Linked DNA regions of Homo sapiens: all the other regions are linked to region 1. Evidence: promoter capture Hi-C in 16 types of primary human blood cells and fetal thymus (Javierre and others, 2016). All regions are on one chromosome and are shown on one strand. Each heading gives the region's core, a stretch centred on a gene start or on the middle of the fragment in contact. The rest is flanking DNA. Distances are from core to core; before and after follow the strand shown. Region 1 holds the start of SCTR-AS1 (SCTR antisense RNA 1). Region 2 holds the start of LOC102723413 (a long non-coding RNA gene). Region 3 overlaps LOC105373578 (a long non-coding RNA gene).

The links. Contacts are between HindIII fragments. The CHiCAGO score rates a contact against its expected background, and 5 or more counts as called.
Region 2: a fragment that was not itself captured here is called in contact with the fragment with the promoter of SCTR-AS1 in region 1 in 1 of 17 cell types (naive CD8 T cells); the score reaches 6.5 in naive CD8 T cells.
Region 3: a fragment that was not itself captured here is called in contact with the fragment with the promoter of SCTR-AS1 in region 1 in 4 of 17 cell types (total B cells, naive CD8 T cells, naive CD4 T cells and 1 more); the score reaches 8.9 in total B cells.

Annotation. Positions count from the first base shown.
Region 1 is chr2:119,473,901-119,478,878 of GRCh38, forward strand. SCTR-AS1 (SCTR antisense RNA 1) reads left to right here and starts at 2,554. Exons shown (of 2, transcript NR_147847.1): 1 at 2,554-3,058. It overlaps SCTR (secretin receptor), which reads right to left. Exons shown (of 13, transcript NM_002980.3): 3 at 4,911-4,978. RefSeq lists enhancers at 1-320, 871-1,421. The HindIII fragment of the contact is 1,181 bases long and covers 1,881-3,061 here.
Region 2 is chr2:118,043,998-118,048,975 of GRCh38, forward strand. It overlaps LOC102723413 (a long non-coding RNA gene), which reads left to right and starts at 569. Exons shown (of 3, transcript XR_923247.3): 1 at 569-749; 2 at 1,307-1,385. The HindIII fragment of the contact is 1,592 bases long and covers 2,177-3,768 here.
Region 3 is chr2:118,219,682-118,224,659 of GRCh38, forward strand. LOC105373578 (a long non-coding RNA gene) reads right to left here. Exons shown (of 5, transcript XR_923249.3): 1 at 4,099-4,978. Among named protein-coding and RNA genes, the nearest start is that of THORLNC, 36 kb to the left of the region's middle. RefSeq lists an enhancer at 2,352-2,646 and a silencer at 4,865-4,914. The HindIII fragment of the contact is 1,790 bases long and covers 1,979-3,768 here.

The DNA.
Region 1 (4,978 bases), core at 1,304-3,803:
TCATGACTTTTTCTCAGGCTCCCATTTTTACTCATCCTGCTCCATGGAAGTTCTGTTTTAAATGGAACTTCATGCCCTGCTCACTCAGCCATTTGAAAACCACCAGAGTGCCATTGAGATGAACCCCTCCAGGCAGCGCCCCTCACGGAAGGGTGGAGGGTCCTTCGGCCACGACCTGTAGGCCACCCCTCTGCATTTCTCTGCATAATAGATCGTGAGACCACCACAGTCCTCCGGCTCAGCTGCTCACTGCCCCCCACCCCTGGCACGAGGACGCATGCTGGGCCCTCTCACCACATGGGCAGTGGCTTCCCCGCCTCCCCAGTGCCTGGCCCAGAGCCTCTGCTTATCAAACGCGGGCTGGCTGGCTGGACAGAAAGGCAAATTGAATGGGGATAAAGAGCCTGCCCTGAACTCTTCTCATAGGGAAGAGGAGAGCACTTCCCCACTGGAGCTTTTACAGCAGGAGCCCAGCCTGCGGAAGGGAGCCACTAGCCAGGAGGGAAGTCTTGGAAGGCCACCGTGAGGAGTTTCCCTCCTCGGGCTGAATGGCCTCGCTGAATTCTGTACTCTGAGCTGCCAAGGAGGGCTGGGATCTGGCTCCCCAGCTCAGGCCGGTGTAAGTGTTGCAGGGGGCAGGATGCTGATGGCCGAGTCCTGTGGGTAGGAGCCCTGCCACCCCTTTGCTCTCACTGGAGCCTTAACAGCCCCAGCTGAGCGTGGCATGCTTCTTTACACAGTCTCCAGGGGCTGGGCCCCTGGCTAACAGGGTTTAGGGTCTAATCCTCACAGTGCCCCACTGAAGGAGGTGCTGCTGCCCATTTTACAGGACAGAACACCAAGGCCCAGAATTGAGCTATCATGCCCAGCCACAGCGTATGCTATCACTGTTCTACCCACCCACCGGGCCCTCTTCCTGAAGTCTCAGGGGCAGCGTCTAGGACCAGGAGACCGTGTCCTCTGAGATCTGGGCATGCCTGCCCTGTGGAGGCTCAGGAGGCCTGGAGCGCAGGTTTAGAAGCAGCCAGATCTGAGTCTGAAACCCAGTGCAGCCTCTTGGTCACTGTGTGACCTTCGGTGCATCATTTCTCTGTGCCACAAAATAATCACCCACACTGCAAGAGTGAGCAGGGAACATGAGAGCACACGGAAAATGCCTAGGCTGGTGCCAGGCACAGAGCGGGCACCGAGGCATCACTCCCCTCTCTTTTTGGCCTTTCTAAAATAGGCAGAAGTGGGAGGGGCTTGGAATCTTGGAATTTAGGCGAGGGGTGGGGAGGTTTCTGGAACTGAATCAAGAGAGTTAGGTTGTCAGATGGGAAACAACGGTGGTCAAATTTAGGCTGGGTGGATGGGAAAGCAAGTTAAGGGAACACAAATTCCCCCAAGGCCAGAATCGAAGGTTATAAGACAGCGCGTGCCTAGAGGCTGGGCTCCCTGTGGGCTCGCCCAGGGCAGCAGGCCTGCCCGTTTGGGGCCCTCTCCTCACTGACACAGCAGGACTCCCAAGACAGATGCTGCATGTGACCCAGGCCAGGTGCCCAGAGCTGCTAACAAGGCAGGGCCCCCTGCCTTCCACTCTGTAGAGCTGCAAAGCAGCTGCCTCCCCACTTCCCCAGGGCTGAATTCCTAATAGGTAAGGGAAACTTAACCAGGCACAGGCCAGTGTGCACCTCAGGGGACCCCTGAAAGGATGTTTGTGCATATATATATATATATAGATGTAGATATTTATATTATATATATAATATAAATAGATATTTATATTTATATTTGTATTATATTATAAATATAAAATAAATATATATATTATGTGCATATATATAAATATATAGATATATAGATATATATTTATGCAGTTCGGGGAAAGACTAGTCCAAAGCTTTCATCTGATTTTCAGAAGGCTCCGGGACCCTAATCAGGTTGGGAAGCATGACCGCTTTAAGGCCAGATCCTCACTAAGTAGGAAGAGAAAGAGGGCCAAGGGGATGCCGCTGGGGAATTGTGTTTTTTAATAAGGAACTCTGGAAGACCAGCGTCCTTTTCAGAATCAAAGGAATACACCCTAGAGGGAGCATTCTAGGCCTGGCATGAACAGAAACATCTGGGGGCAGAATCGGCCTGCGGTTTCTCCAGTCACATGGACCCCACCCCTCCTGTCAGGACCCATGTAGTAGGTGCCCTCAAGGAGAATTAATTTATTTTCCAGAGCACCTTGTCCTCACTGGGCGCTCCCCCTGGGGTTAGGGTTGGGGGCACCACCTAGGGAAGCCTGCCTTCCTGCCGGGAGATGAAGGGGCAGGAGTCTAATCAGACCCAGAAGTAGATCTATGGGGATGAAGGAGGGGTGGGTGGGAGTTCTTGATGATAAATTGAGGCCAGACAGCTGTTGACCTGTGCTCTTGGGCCACCCACCCCCAGGCTGGGTATGAACAACGTGGCCCCCACCACCCTGGAGGGAGCCCAGAGCCCAATAGGCAGGCCTTTGGTGTGGCCCTGCAGGCCCACAGCGACACCATGTGGCGGCGAGAAGAAACTGCAGCAGAGTCGGCACAGGACCCCAGCTTCCATCCTCACGTTGTGTGGACATGGTCCAGCTTCCTGCCGCGGACCATGAGCAATCCAAGGGTAGGGGAGCCTCAAGAGGGAGACACTGAGCCTTTACGTAATGAGGCAGGGAGGGGTTCAAGCAATTAATTGAGAAAGGATGTGACAGGACTGGCACCTGGTCACTTTGTGGCCGTGAGCACCAGCTCCGCCTATCCCCTCTGCAGGGCAGAAGGGACAGTGCTGCGGGAGGCGGAGGTGCTGTGGCTCTGGGAAGGCTGAAAAGGGACGGCTGCAAAGGAGAAGAGCTTCGAGTCCTTTCCATCAGGAGAAAAACCCGGTCAGCTGTGGAGGAGCACTGCACAGGAGTCAGAAAGTGGAGTCTGGGCGTGACCTTGCACCTGACCAGCCTGGGGCTCTAGGTCCGCCACATCTGGACTAATCTCCTGTGTCCTGAGCTCCCAGGACCCCAGAGGCAAGCATGGAGGGGCCACGCTGGCAGGTAAAGTTGGTAAGCTTGCGGGGGTGTGTGTGGCAGGGGTAGGGGAGGGAAGGTGGGAAGGAGAAAAAGGAAAAGAAGGGAGAGGAGTAGGGGAGAAGGGACAAAATTTATTTCCAAGCACAGCCTTACAGGGCAGGTCTTATTTATTTTCCCCATTTTACAGTCAAGAAAATTGAGGCTCCCCAGCAGTGAGCAACTTGGATCCCGGGGCTGACTGGCACCCAGCTAAAAGACATTTCCCCAGGTCCCTTGCAGTTAGATGTTGCCATGTGACTGAGTTCTAGCCGAGGGAATGTGGGCAGAGTGGGATCCTTCCCAGGCCCGCCCCTTATGAACCTCTGCTGTGTGGTCCTCCGAGTTCTTTCCTCTCCGCCAGTCAGCCTGGAAACTATGTGATGCCACGGTTGTGAGGTGTGGGGTGCTGGGGTCACCGTGTAGAGGAGAGCTGCCTGCTAATCAGGAATACCTGTTTCCTGTTCTGGACGTTTTTTGTTTGTTTGTTTGTTTGTTTGTTTGTTTGTGACAGAGTCTCACTCTGTCGCCCAGGCTGGGGTGCAGTGGCACGAGCTCAGCTAACTGCAACCTCAGCCTCCCAGGTTCAAGTGATTCTCGTGCCTCGGCCTCCTGAGTAGCTGGGATTACAGGTGTGCACCACCACGCCTAGCTAATTTTTGTACTTTTAGAAGAGATGGGGTTTCACCATGTTGGCCAGGCTGGTCTCGAACTCCCGACCTCAGGAGATCCGCCCACCTCGGCCTCCCAAAGTACTGGGATTACAGGTGTGAGCCACCGCACCCAGCCTGTTTTGGACTTTCTGTGGACAAATTTGCATGAAGGCTTTGAGATGTGGGGCATTGTCTGTTACAGCAGCTAGCATTACCAAGCCAGGAATTGGAGGAGCGGGTTTCAAGCCTGTCTACCTCATTTCCCCCAGTTCCCATAGTGTAGGGTGTTGAGTGAGGCTTCGAGGGAGCAGCATGTTCCCCAAATATGTGTGTGTGTGCACACATGTGCGTATGTACAGCAGAATTATGGTGAGAAGAATCTCCACTCCCTTCCCACAGTCTCTGAACCGTGGTCATCTTTGCCTTGCCTGACTTTGAAAGGCTGGTGGGTTTTAGTGTTAAATCACCTATTCTTGTTCAGGCTTCATCTGGCAGCTTTGCTGTCCTGCATGGACCAGGAAAGAGGGGCAGCTGCACAGCTTTTCTCAGTCCCTGTTATTATTACTCTTTACTGGATCAAGGGAAAAGTCCTGTGATCTGCAGGGGGTTTATGATGAATAAATGAGCCCGTATGTACATATAAAAATGTCCAGTGCATGGTCGACTTCTAATCAATGTGAGTCAACTAGGAAAATTCTTAAATCCGCAGCTGTCTTCTGGTAAGACAACCCCTCGCCCCAGGAGGCCAGGGGCTCCCAGGGAGCCAATTTCTCAGCAGGGCCTGACAGTGGAAGGAAGTATTTTGGAAGGCCAGGCCATTAGGGAGCCTGCCACTACCAGGAGGGGTTCCAGACATGGGGACTGGAACAAGGCCCCTGGTTGCTAAGGGGGCAGAAACATGGAAGGAAGGAAGAGAGCTCCTAGCTGAAGGGCCTGGGGAAGACAGAAGCAGGCCCAGCCTCCCTTATCGCCTTCCCCAGTGCACTGCCTCCTGCCCCCTTGCTTGACACCCTCAGAATTTGAGTCCACCCCACATTCCCAAGCAAGGCTTCTAATCCTTTGCAGTGATCTCCCCCATCATTGTACCCATACTTGTCCTCAGAGAAGGTTCCTTGGCCTCCTGCCTCTAAGCTGAGGCCCCACCCAGAGGGACACCCCTCAGCCTGTCCGCCAGGCCCCATGGGCCGAGTGGTTACCATTTCTGCTGGTGAGCATCCGGAGGAATCTCGGGCATTCCACCTCCACCATCCGGCCCGGCACAGAA
Region 2 (4,978 bases), core at 1,723-4,222, 1.4 Mb before region 1:
ATAGTTTTAATGGTCATGTTTACAGAATGATTCACAAACCTGTATCAATCAGGACCCTTTGTCTCAAGTAATAGAAACCTGATTTCAGAAACAGAAACATAAATTTGCTTTGCACGCAGAAAGAAGGCCGAGGCAGCCCAAGAAACGTGAATGACAGGAAAGCCTACTATATGCTGTCTTATGTTACTTCTCTGTATTGGCCAACTACTTATATTGAAAATGATGACATAGAAGTAAAGAGAATTGTAATTCCTTACTCATCAATAAAGTGAGCAATGTTGGTAGAATGTGCACACATCGAGTAAGATGAAAACAGTCGAGTAACAGAAACCTGATTCAAATTTTGCTAAGAAACAAAGGGAGAGGTTGTTAACTCATTTATGTAACTCAGGACTCAACTGAGATGCTCAAAATCTGTACTCCTTGAAGGGTTTGTTTTTGTCTGTGTCTCTCAGCTCTGCTTTTCTCCACATTGGCCTCATTCTCAGGCAGTCCCTCTCTACCTGGTGACAAGTCCAGTGCTCTATGATGTCATGGTCCTCATGTCTCATCATCCCAGAGGAAAAGGGTGTCTCTTTCCCCACAGATGTAACCAGGTTCCTGTGGAGGACACGGCTTTGCTAAGCCTGCCTGGCTTCTGTGTCCTCCTCTGGGCCTGAGTGCAGAGGGTGAGAGTCCACATCCCCAGAACCATGGGGACTGAACAGGATTACTACAGAGCAGCAAAGAAGTGGGGCACCAAAGGAAAGGTGGGTTGTGGAAGGGATGGAAAGGGGAAGGAGATAATACATTCATTTTGACAATTTGAGGAGGTCTAGATTCAGGACATCAGGGCTGTCATCCTGGTTCTTTGGGTTTCTTGTCTTTTGTCTGTAAAATCGGAAGGTTGGAATTCTAAGGCCCTCTGTCCACCATCATCTTTCTTTAATTCTATGAATAATGGACACATAAAGCAGAAGCTTTTGAAGGTGCCTCTGGGCATAATCTGAGGGGCAGCAGAGCACAGTGGTTAGAAGTGTGAACTCTGGAAACAGATGTGTCATTCTGTGTGTGTCCATCATCTCAGGATCTGCTCAGTGGGCGTAGTCTCACAGAGCCCCAGGCTCAGAGAGCCTCACACTTATTTTAATGCTCTGCTGTCACTGTCTTGAAATTCTCAACAATTTTATGTTTGAACTTATGTTTTGCAAGTGAATTCTGACAGACATTGGAGCATACATGAGAGTAGGGAAGATAAGCACAGTATGTTAAGCCCAATAATAATAATGGAGTATCTGCTGTTCCTTGCTACCTTATTTCCTTACAGAGTACACAACACCTTGTGAACACAGAATTCTGGTGGACCCAGAATATGTGGGAGTTCAGTGAGACTTAAAGAGGAAAAGGTGAGCATGGCATATTGGCATATCTGCATATCTACCACTGACTTTTCGCTTGGGCCAGAACTTGCTTTGAATGCAGAAAGCAGGCCAAGGCATTCCAAGAAACATGAATTACAGGAAAGCCTACCATATGCTCTCTTATGCTACTTCTCTGTGTTGGCTAACTACTTGTACTGAAAATGATGACATAGAAGGAAAGAGAATTGTAATTCCCTACTCACCAATAAGCCCAAGGTGAGCAGTGTTGGTAGATTGTGCATATATCAAGTGAGATGAAAATAGTTGAGTTGGTTTTGTGCAGCATTTCTACCATTCTGGAGAGAGTGAAATACACACACATGAGCGACAAAATAACGAATTGTGAAATTTTGATTATTCTGTATATGAGTTACATGCTCTTTTATTTGCATTGAAAACACATTGCACAATATAAAAATGAATGGTAAAACTCATACAATGACAACATTAAATTTTTTATTAAAATAACATTAAATAGCAAATTAAAACATCATAACAAGTTGAGAGAGAGACTTAGAAAGAAAGGAAAAAGCTTTATATTTTCATACTTTTAATGGCACTTCTTTCCCTGCTTTTGGAACAAAAGGCTCCACATTTTGATTTTGCACTAAGCCTCACAAATTATTTAGCCTCCCCCTGAATCAGCAAATGACTTTACCTCCTGGTGATTCCGTTTCTCTATTTGTAAAGTGGGCACAAACACAGCAATGTCTCCATTATTGGACTGTTGCAAGAATGAACAGTGCTTAGCATTCAGTAGTTGCTCAATAAACATAAGCTTTTATTATAAAAATGAGTTAGTATAAGACATATCTTTATGATGTGAAATAGTCAATCTTTTTTTTGTTTGTTTGTTTTTGAGATGGGGCAGGGTGGGTCTCACTCCTGTTGCCCAGGCTGGAGTGCAATGGCATGATCATGGCTCACTGAAGTCTCAACCTCGGGGCTCAGGTGATTCTCCCAACTCAGCCCCCTGAGTAGCTGGGACTACGGGCATGCACCACCATGCCTGGCTTTTTTTTTTTTTAATTTTTTTTATTTTTTTTATTTTTAGTAGAGACAGGCTTTCGCCATGTTGCCTAGGCTGGTGGATTATTAGATCTTAAATTTCCCTCGATGGTGACTTTCTGTAAACCAAACTTGATAGCAAACTCCCCTCTTCTATACTTTTCCTATGTTGGAAAAGTTTATTGGAGTAGTTTGAATTTTTCACTGTAGTTTCATTAATAGGCTCACTTAATTTACTACTTAAATGATGCCATTGGCATTAGCAGAATACTTTATGTAGTCAGCAGCAGAACAAATAAAGTTAAGAAAAATATTTTAGGGGGAGAATATTGGGGATCAATCTTTTTTAATTCCAAATAAAAACTGAGGTAAGGATTAAGCTATTAAGTGAAAAAGCAGAAAAGGACATTTTCTACTTCTCAACAACAGATGGCGATGTAGCTAAGCAAATAGAGGACATTGTTCTCGGAGAAATTCTGTCTTCAAGTGCGAGGAAGCAAAGCTATAAACAACATATGGAAAACAATGAACATTTTAATTAGGTGTTAATAACTGAATATTGAATCTTTGTCTTCCACCTAACTCACAACAATGTTATGACAGCTAATTAATAAGTGATTGTAAAGGAAATGATTAATTATTTAGAGTAATAATTAGAATAGCTTACATGCTTGTAATCATAAAATGGTTTTAAAAGTAGACAGAGGCAAAGCAAGTTATTATTCTGTTGTTACAAAAATATTGCGGTGCCTCTTTCAGGATGATTCCTATTGTCATTCTGCATTGTCTGGATTTAATAAACAGGCACCATCATGCTTTTTTTTCCCATCAAGTTTCATTTCAGCCATGGAATAGAAAATCATGTATGTGTGGTTTTTAAAGGATTTTCTGTCATACTTATTTGAAATTATGTACATGGGAGTAAACTGAAGGCCTACCCATGTGGGGGGAACTTTTTGGAAAGATATTAACCACAGAACGAACCAAAACAAAACCCTGGACCAGAAGAATAAAGTCTCCCCCTAGAGTCTCTGTCTGTAGTGTCTGATTCTCATATATAAAATCAAAACTAAAAAGCAAGTGTATAATCCCAAACTTCTCCTCCTCCGCCTTCTCATTCTGTATTTCAAATCTCTTTGAACTGTCTCATGTCTTCAGGATATAATGAAATCCCTTGCTCTGGAAGGAAGCCACAATAGATATATTTCAAGACCTTTCCCTTTCCTTTCTGCTGGTAGCAGAGCTAATGTAGTTTACTTACTAGATGAGTCACCATGGATGCTGATACACTCAAGCCAAGTCTACCCTAGTGAGGGGAATTGGAGAATTGTGGCAATTATCTCATAATTTAAATAAACAAAGCTTCCCTCATTTTTGTTTCGGTTACCTGAATTTTTCAAGTGAATGTCTAATTTTAGTTTTGAATTATTAGAGGTTGTTCTTGCCTCAACCCTCTTAGTAGCTAGCAGAGCTCTGGACGGCTTTGAGGTGAAGTGCTTTAAGAATGTGCACCCAAGGCAAATGTATTCTGTGCTTTCTATTTTATCATCCCAAGCATTTCTACTTGGCATTTGGGGAAACAATGTGAATAACTCAAGTCTAGGATGAAACATTTCTGGAAGGCAGACAATATTGAGATCTGGAAATGGTTGTTTGGAGAGCCTAGATATTTCCAATCAGACAAAGACATTCATAATACCATGTCCTTCCAGACAATATGGACCCCAACACGTTTTGTGTGGACCACATGTTTCTCGGCTGGCCCCAGTCCAAGCCACCACCTGTACTGAAACTTCCAATTGGGAGTTTACGGCTGATCCTGGCTACCTCTCTTAATCACATCTTTCTTCTCAGACCATGTCCCCACCTTGCCAATGTGAATTCCTCCATCTTATTACCCCTCACTTAATGCGAGTGAACATTCGAGGGAGATAGAGGAGCTTTGCAAGTGTAAGGCATGGCTGTCATTTCCGGGTCCTAAAGCATCATATTGTTATTTAATACTTATATTCAATGTCTTAATTATTCAGCACCTTTAAGCCACAATTGTTTGGCTTCAAATAGAACCTGGGTGATGGTAGTTGCTAAGGTGTGAGCCCAAAATGACTATGATCTGCATTTCTTTTCATAGTGTGCATTTTTGAAGACTGACTCTCAACTTTCAGCTTTTGCCACTGCCTGTGATATGTCTTGCTCTATGTGACTCAGCATGAAAGGCTCATCTGGCAATCCCATCTCTAATTTCTTATCATTTGCCAGCAGGAGATAGCTATGTTGCCTGTTCAGAGAAGGAGCATCTATCTGATTGACAGGATGCTGTGGGTAGAAGTGGACGTTGGCAGTTGACGGACCTGGGTTTGAATCCCATCCTTTCACTTCAGTCACGTGCAATATTTCTTACCTTCCCTGAACTTCAACTTTTATTTCTGTAAAACAGGGATAATAATATATATCTGGCAGAATAGTGATTAGAAATAACTTGTGTAAAGTGCCCAGCAAAAGGTGAATGCTTAATAATGGTAACCATTGTTAAAACTTCTCTTTATGCAACAGGAGAGAAGATATTTCTA
Region 3 (4,978 bases), core at 1,624-4,123, 1.3 Mb before region 1:
TGTGCAGGTGAAAAGATTTCTGTCGGGTCTATACTCAGGAATAGAATTGCTGGGTTATATGGTATGTGCCAAACTGTTTGCCAAGGGACTATATATATCTTTCCTTTCCAGAAACCTTGTTTAAAAAGATCCCAGGGGACCACATCCTCTCCAACACTTGGTATTGCTAGATTTTTTAAATTTTTGTCAGTTGAATAGTGTTATGGTCTCTAAAATATGGTCTCTAAAATATGGTCTCTAAAATGTGTGTGGGTGCTGGATATTAAATGGTGCCTCACTATGTTCTTGGTTACCATGTCCCCAATCTATTCTTTTAATTATTGGCTTGGTTTTTTTTCTGCTGTCAGATGACGATTGTGACTATTGCTGATTTTCTTTTTACAATGTAATATTTGAAGGTAACTCTTCAGCAATATGAAATTTATTTTTGGTTAAGGTATGTATTCCTTTTAACAAATGGATAGTACATTTTTCCAACAATGTTTAGTAAACAATCTGCAATTCAGGCCTTTGATTTGAGATGTCAACTTTATCTTACACTGAATTTTTATAAATACATAAAATATGTCCTTTAATAAAATACATCCTTTCTGTACTCTTTATTTGTTTAATTGCTTGGTCTGATTTTCACACCAGTACCATCCTGTTAAAGTTGTAGTTTTATAGAACATATCATTAGGTCAAATTTTATTCGTTTTCCAAATATGTCTTCACTGTTTTCATTGCATTATTCTCTTAAGTGAAGTTTAGAATTACTTTGCCAAATTCCCTTCTATCCCACACTTCTAACTCACTCATCCTATTGATTTCATTTATATACACAGTCATCCCTCGGTATCTGTGGGGGATTGGTCCCAGGACCTTGCTCAGATACCAAAATCCCCAAATACTCAAGTACCTGATATAAAATAGTGTAGTATTTGCATATAACATACACATTTCTTCCTGTATACTTTAAATCATCTCTAAATTAATTATAATTCCAAATATAGTGTAAATGCCATGTAAATAGTTGTTATAATGTACTGTTTAGGAAATGATGACAAGAAAAAAGTCTGTACATGTTCAGTACAGACTCAACTTTTTTTCTGATTATTTTTCATCTGAGATTGGTTGAATCCATGAATGTGGAATCCATGGATATGGAAGGCCGTCTGTATGTAAATTTGAGAATTGATGTCTTCACAACATTAAGTCTCTGCATTTAAGAAAACAGTCTTTTTCACCTTTATTTGAATCTTATCTTGGAATATTCATCAAGAAAGTTTGTAGGTTTCTCCATGTACTTTCTTCACAATCTTCTTAAGTTTGTAATAAAGACTTTTGAGTAAGGTGATGACAAAATAATTATTGATCTTTCTTGTTTGGGTTGTCTTAACATCATGCAAGTAACAAACAGCCTTGTGTAGGTAGATCCCTTTAACACAATTAGCTGGAAAGCCCCTGCTGATTCAGGTGTAGACAATTGCAACTAGCCCACGACAGCCAGCATGGCTGTTTCAGCTTCACAGACCTGGCACCTATCAGGGGCTCAGTTGGTTAACATAAGATTAATAATTCATCAAATGATTTCACTAATTTAACCCAATTGAGAATCATTCTCTCTCTGAGCTCAGTTTTGCAGGCAAAGCATTTGGGGCTCTATGTTACTAGAACATGGTCTTCATTTTTCCTCATATTCTGTAGTGCACACCATCAAGTTTATTGTCTCCTTGAATAAGAGACCTTCACATAAGATAGATGTAACACACACATATATGCATACTGCATTTTACTGGGTATATATTCCATTTTTTAAAATCTAGCTTGGCTTTGAGAAAGAAGTATCAACCTTTGCACCCTGTGGTCTTTATCACCAGGCAGGAAGGCCATGAAAAAACGTTCCTCATTTGAAGTCTGGGAAACCCTCCACACTCTAGTGCTGACCAGCACTTTTGAGAGAAACCGCAGATCCAGGGGCTAGTAATGTGTACTAACAAGCTTTGTATCCTGAAATCCATACTGCAGAGGGGATTGAAATCTACAGAAAGCCACATCTGTGTGTTCCTCGCAGTCCCCAGCAAGGAGCCTGAATACAGCATGTCATTATGATTAATTGTGGGTAATGAGGGTCTTATGAAACCAAGAAAGAGAAGCGTTTATTTCTCTGCTGCTACAGTTATAGCCTCCGATTTGTTTTCAAGCACTCTACAGAGGACAGCCAAAATAGAATAGGAAATGACTATTCTCCAGCCATCCTTTACTTCCCTGCCAGGCATTTCAGTAAATTAACAGGCAGGGACCGGTTGGGGATTTTGTGAGCCTTCTCAAGGATATGATAAAGAAAAGACTTCCCAGTTCAAAGAATCTGTATAAAACCAGGCTATAGGAGAGATCAGCTGTGAGTTCTGAGAAGCTAAGTGGTGCTCTGAGTTCAGCTACAAATCGGACAACAGACCACAGTGAATAAAAGAATTCTTTTATGGAAGCAGCGGGTGTTTTCGTCATTCTCTAACCTACCAGAAGGTGGTGCAAATTCACTGCTGATACAGTAAAGGAGGACGTGGCTTTCTTTTCCAGCCCTACCCTGTCCAAGTACAGTAAAACAGAGAGAGAGAGAGAGATTTAAAAATAAATTAGACAGGAATATTTAATCTTTTTAAAAACAAATAACTCCCCTTCAAGTTGTCTAACATCTGTCAACTTATTTCTTGCTGAGACTCAGTTGATGTGAGTCAAGCTAATAAAGAAACATGACACAAAGATTTGAAGAAGATAATTTTGAATATCTTAATGTAATAAAATTAAGATGGAGTATTTAATGGCTTAGGACAAACACTACATTAAGGAACTGGCCTATGTTCCTAGAGATTCTAACAAATAGCAAAGAAGTGGTTAATTGGACAAACATTTTATTCCATTAAAGCATCATTATAGTATTTTAATATTTGGACATAAAAAAATCTTTAGGATGAAGCACTATGAGTTTTGTGCAGCAGCACACGCATTTTTGAAATGAAAATTAACCTTTCTCCTAGGAAGATAATATAGGATGTAGAAGACCCAACAAGAGTGTTTAAAAACAAACAAAAACAAAACAAAAAACAAAACAGAAACCTTTCACTAACAACAACCAACATAACAAAACCCTCTTCATTTGGTGTGAGGGGAGTTGCTGGAAGCAAGCCCTGGCTTAGAGCAGCTCATCAGCTGTGTGTACTGGTGCCCACGTTTCCAATAGTCAAGAGTATTTTTAGAGATGGGACATCTACCTAGAAAGAAGAAAGTTTTAAAAAACAATTTGTTATTTCAGTAACATATCAACTGAGGGCACCATCAAAAATATTTTCCTAAATTCTCTTAATCTCCAAGACCACTCTATTATATCTAAACAGAGAAGGAGTATTTTTGAATAAAAAGAAAACAAAACAAACAAAAGCAAAACACCCCAAACCTTTTTATACAGAAAACAAAACAAAGCTCCAAATGAAGGCTTGAACATTTTCGAATTAGAATTTCTAAAGAAAACGCATCCAGAGAGTGACCTCAGAGTTCTGGGTAACTACTGATTTTTCAGCCCGAAATCGAGCATAGGTTTAGCAAACGTTACCAGGGAGAACAATGTATTTTTGTTTCTAACTCAAATCTATCTTTTAAAAAATTAATTTTCTCTCTCTATTGCCGGATTACATTTTCATTTAACTTTGGTGCCGTGCCTTGTAATTAGTTTTTCTTGATCTGTTTCTTGGAAGGAAAAAAAAAAGTTAGGGGAAAAAAAGATAAAAAACAAGCTTGTAGGTTGCAGTTAAAATATTTTGCTTTATCACGCCTGGCGTGAAAAGAACCAAGAACACTGAACCCAGGGCAGCAGCGAATCCCACGCCCCACGCTCCCTCTTCCCAAACCTCAATATCGTTGCTTAAAATCTTCCGGGCTTATTGTGAAGCCAAGGGCGCTTGGCATGGGAAGAGAGCCGCTCGTGATTTATTTGGGAGAGGGATGGGGTTTTGGAAAGGAAATTGGGGGGTTTACAAGGAGGACGGGTGGGTTTTACTCAACAACTTATTCTTGGGCGTTTTCGTGGACTGGAGAGGAGTTTCGATCCCGTCTCGGGCTCACCTGGGAAGCCCCCTCCTGGCGCCCGCTTTGTTTGGCGTTCCTTTAAAGCCCGGTGTTGGCAGAGCGACCCACAATGAAACAAATTCTCATTTTATGACGTCTTTCCCCCCGTAGGAGTCCGAACAATGTCTGGGGGCTTGGCACGCATGAAGATAAAAGAATTTTATTTTAAATGCGATACATGTCAGGATTAGACAGCGTTTCCTTTCAGCTAAACTACAGAGCGAATCTTCATTTCCTGTTTCACTGCTTCCCCCGAAAGAAACTTTTCTTTTTCTTTTTCTTTTTCTTTTTTTTTCTTTTCTTTCTCTCCCCCAGCAGAGAGTCCGAGAGAAAAGTGCTGGGCACAGAGCTCCCCACGAGGTCCCCGGAAAGCAGACTTAGCTCCTGATCGTTGTCAATCTTTGGGCAACCCGGGGCCTCGCAACGGCTCGGGTTTAGTGTGATCTGGGGAGGCTGCAGCCCAGTTCCGGCTACCGTGGGCGCCTGAGCAGAGCCGGGGCGAGTTGTAAACCTCAGAGAAAGGCACTTGTCCCCAGCAAAACGCTTGGAGAGGACCGTGCACGCTGTGCTGCCCCCGCCCCGAGACGCGCCGGGCCGCCGGGTCACCGGTTTTCCGAAAGGGACCCGGCAGAGACAAAGTGCCTTCGCCGCTGCGATAGGTTGGTTTTACTTTGCAATAAACAGCCCCTAATGGGACCGGGCGCCGGGCGGAGAGCTCGGCCCGGGGCGCGGCCTTTGCCGCCTGGCTCTGCGGGCCGCCCCGCCGGGCGCCAGGTTTTGGGGGGTGGCCCGGCCCCGCGTCCGCCACTGCAGGCCGCTCTCCTCCTTCCCGCGCACACAGCGGAGAAAAAAGGACGCAAACAGCATTTTACACTTT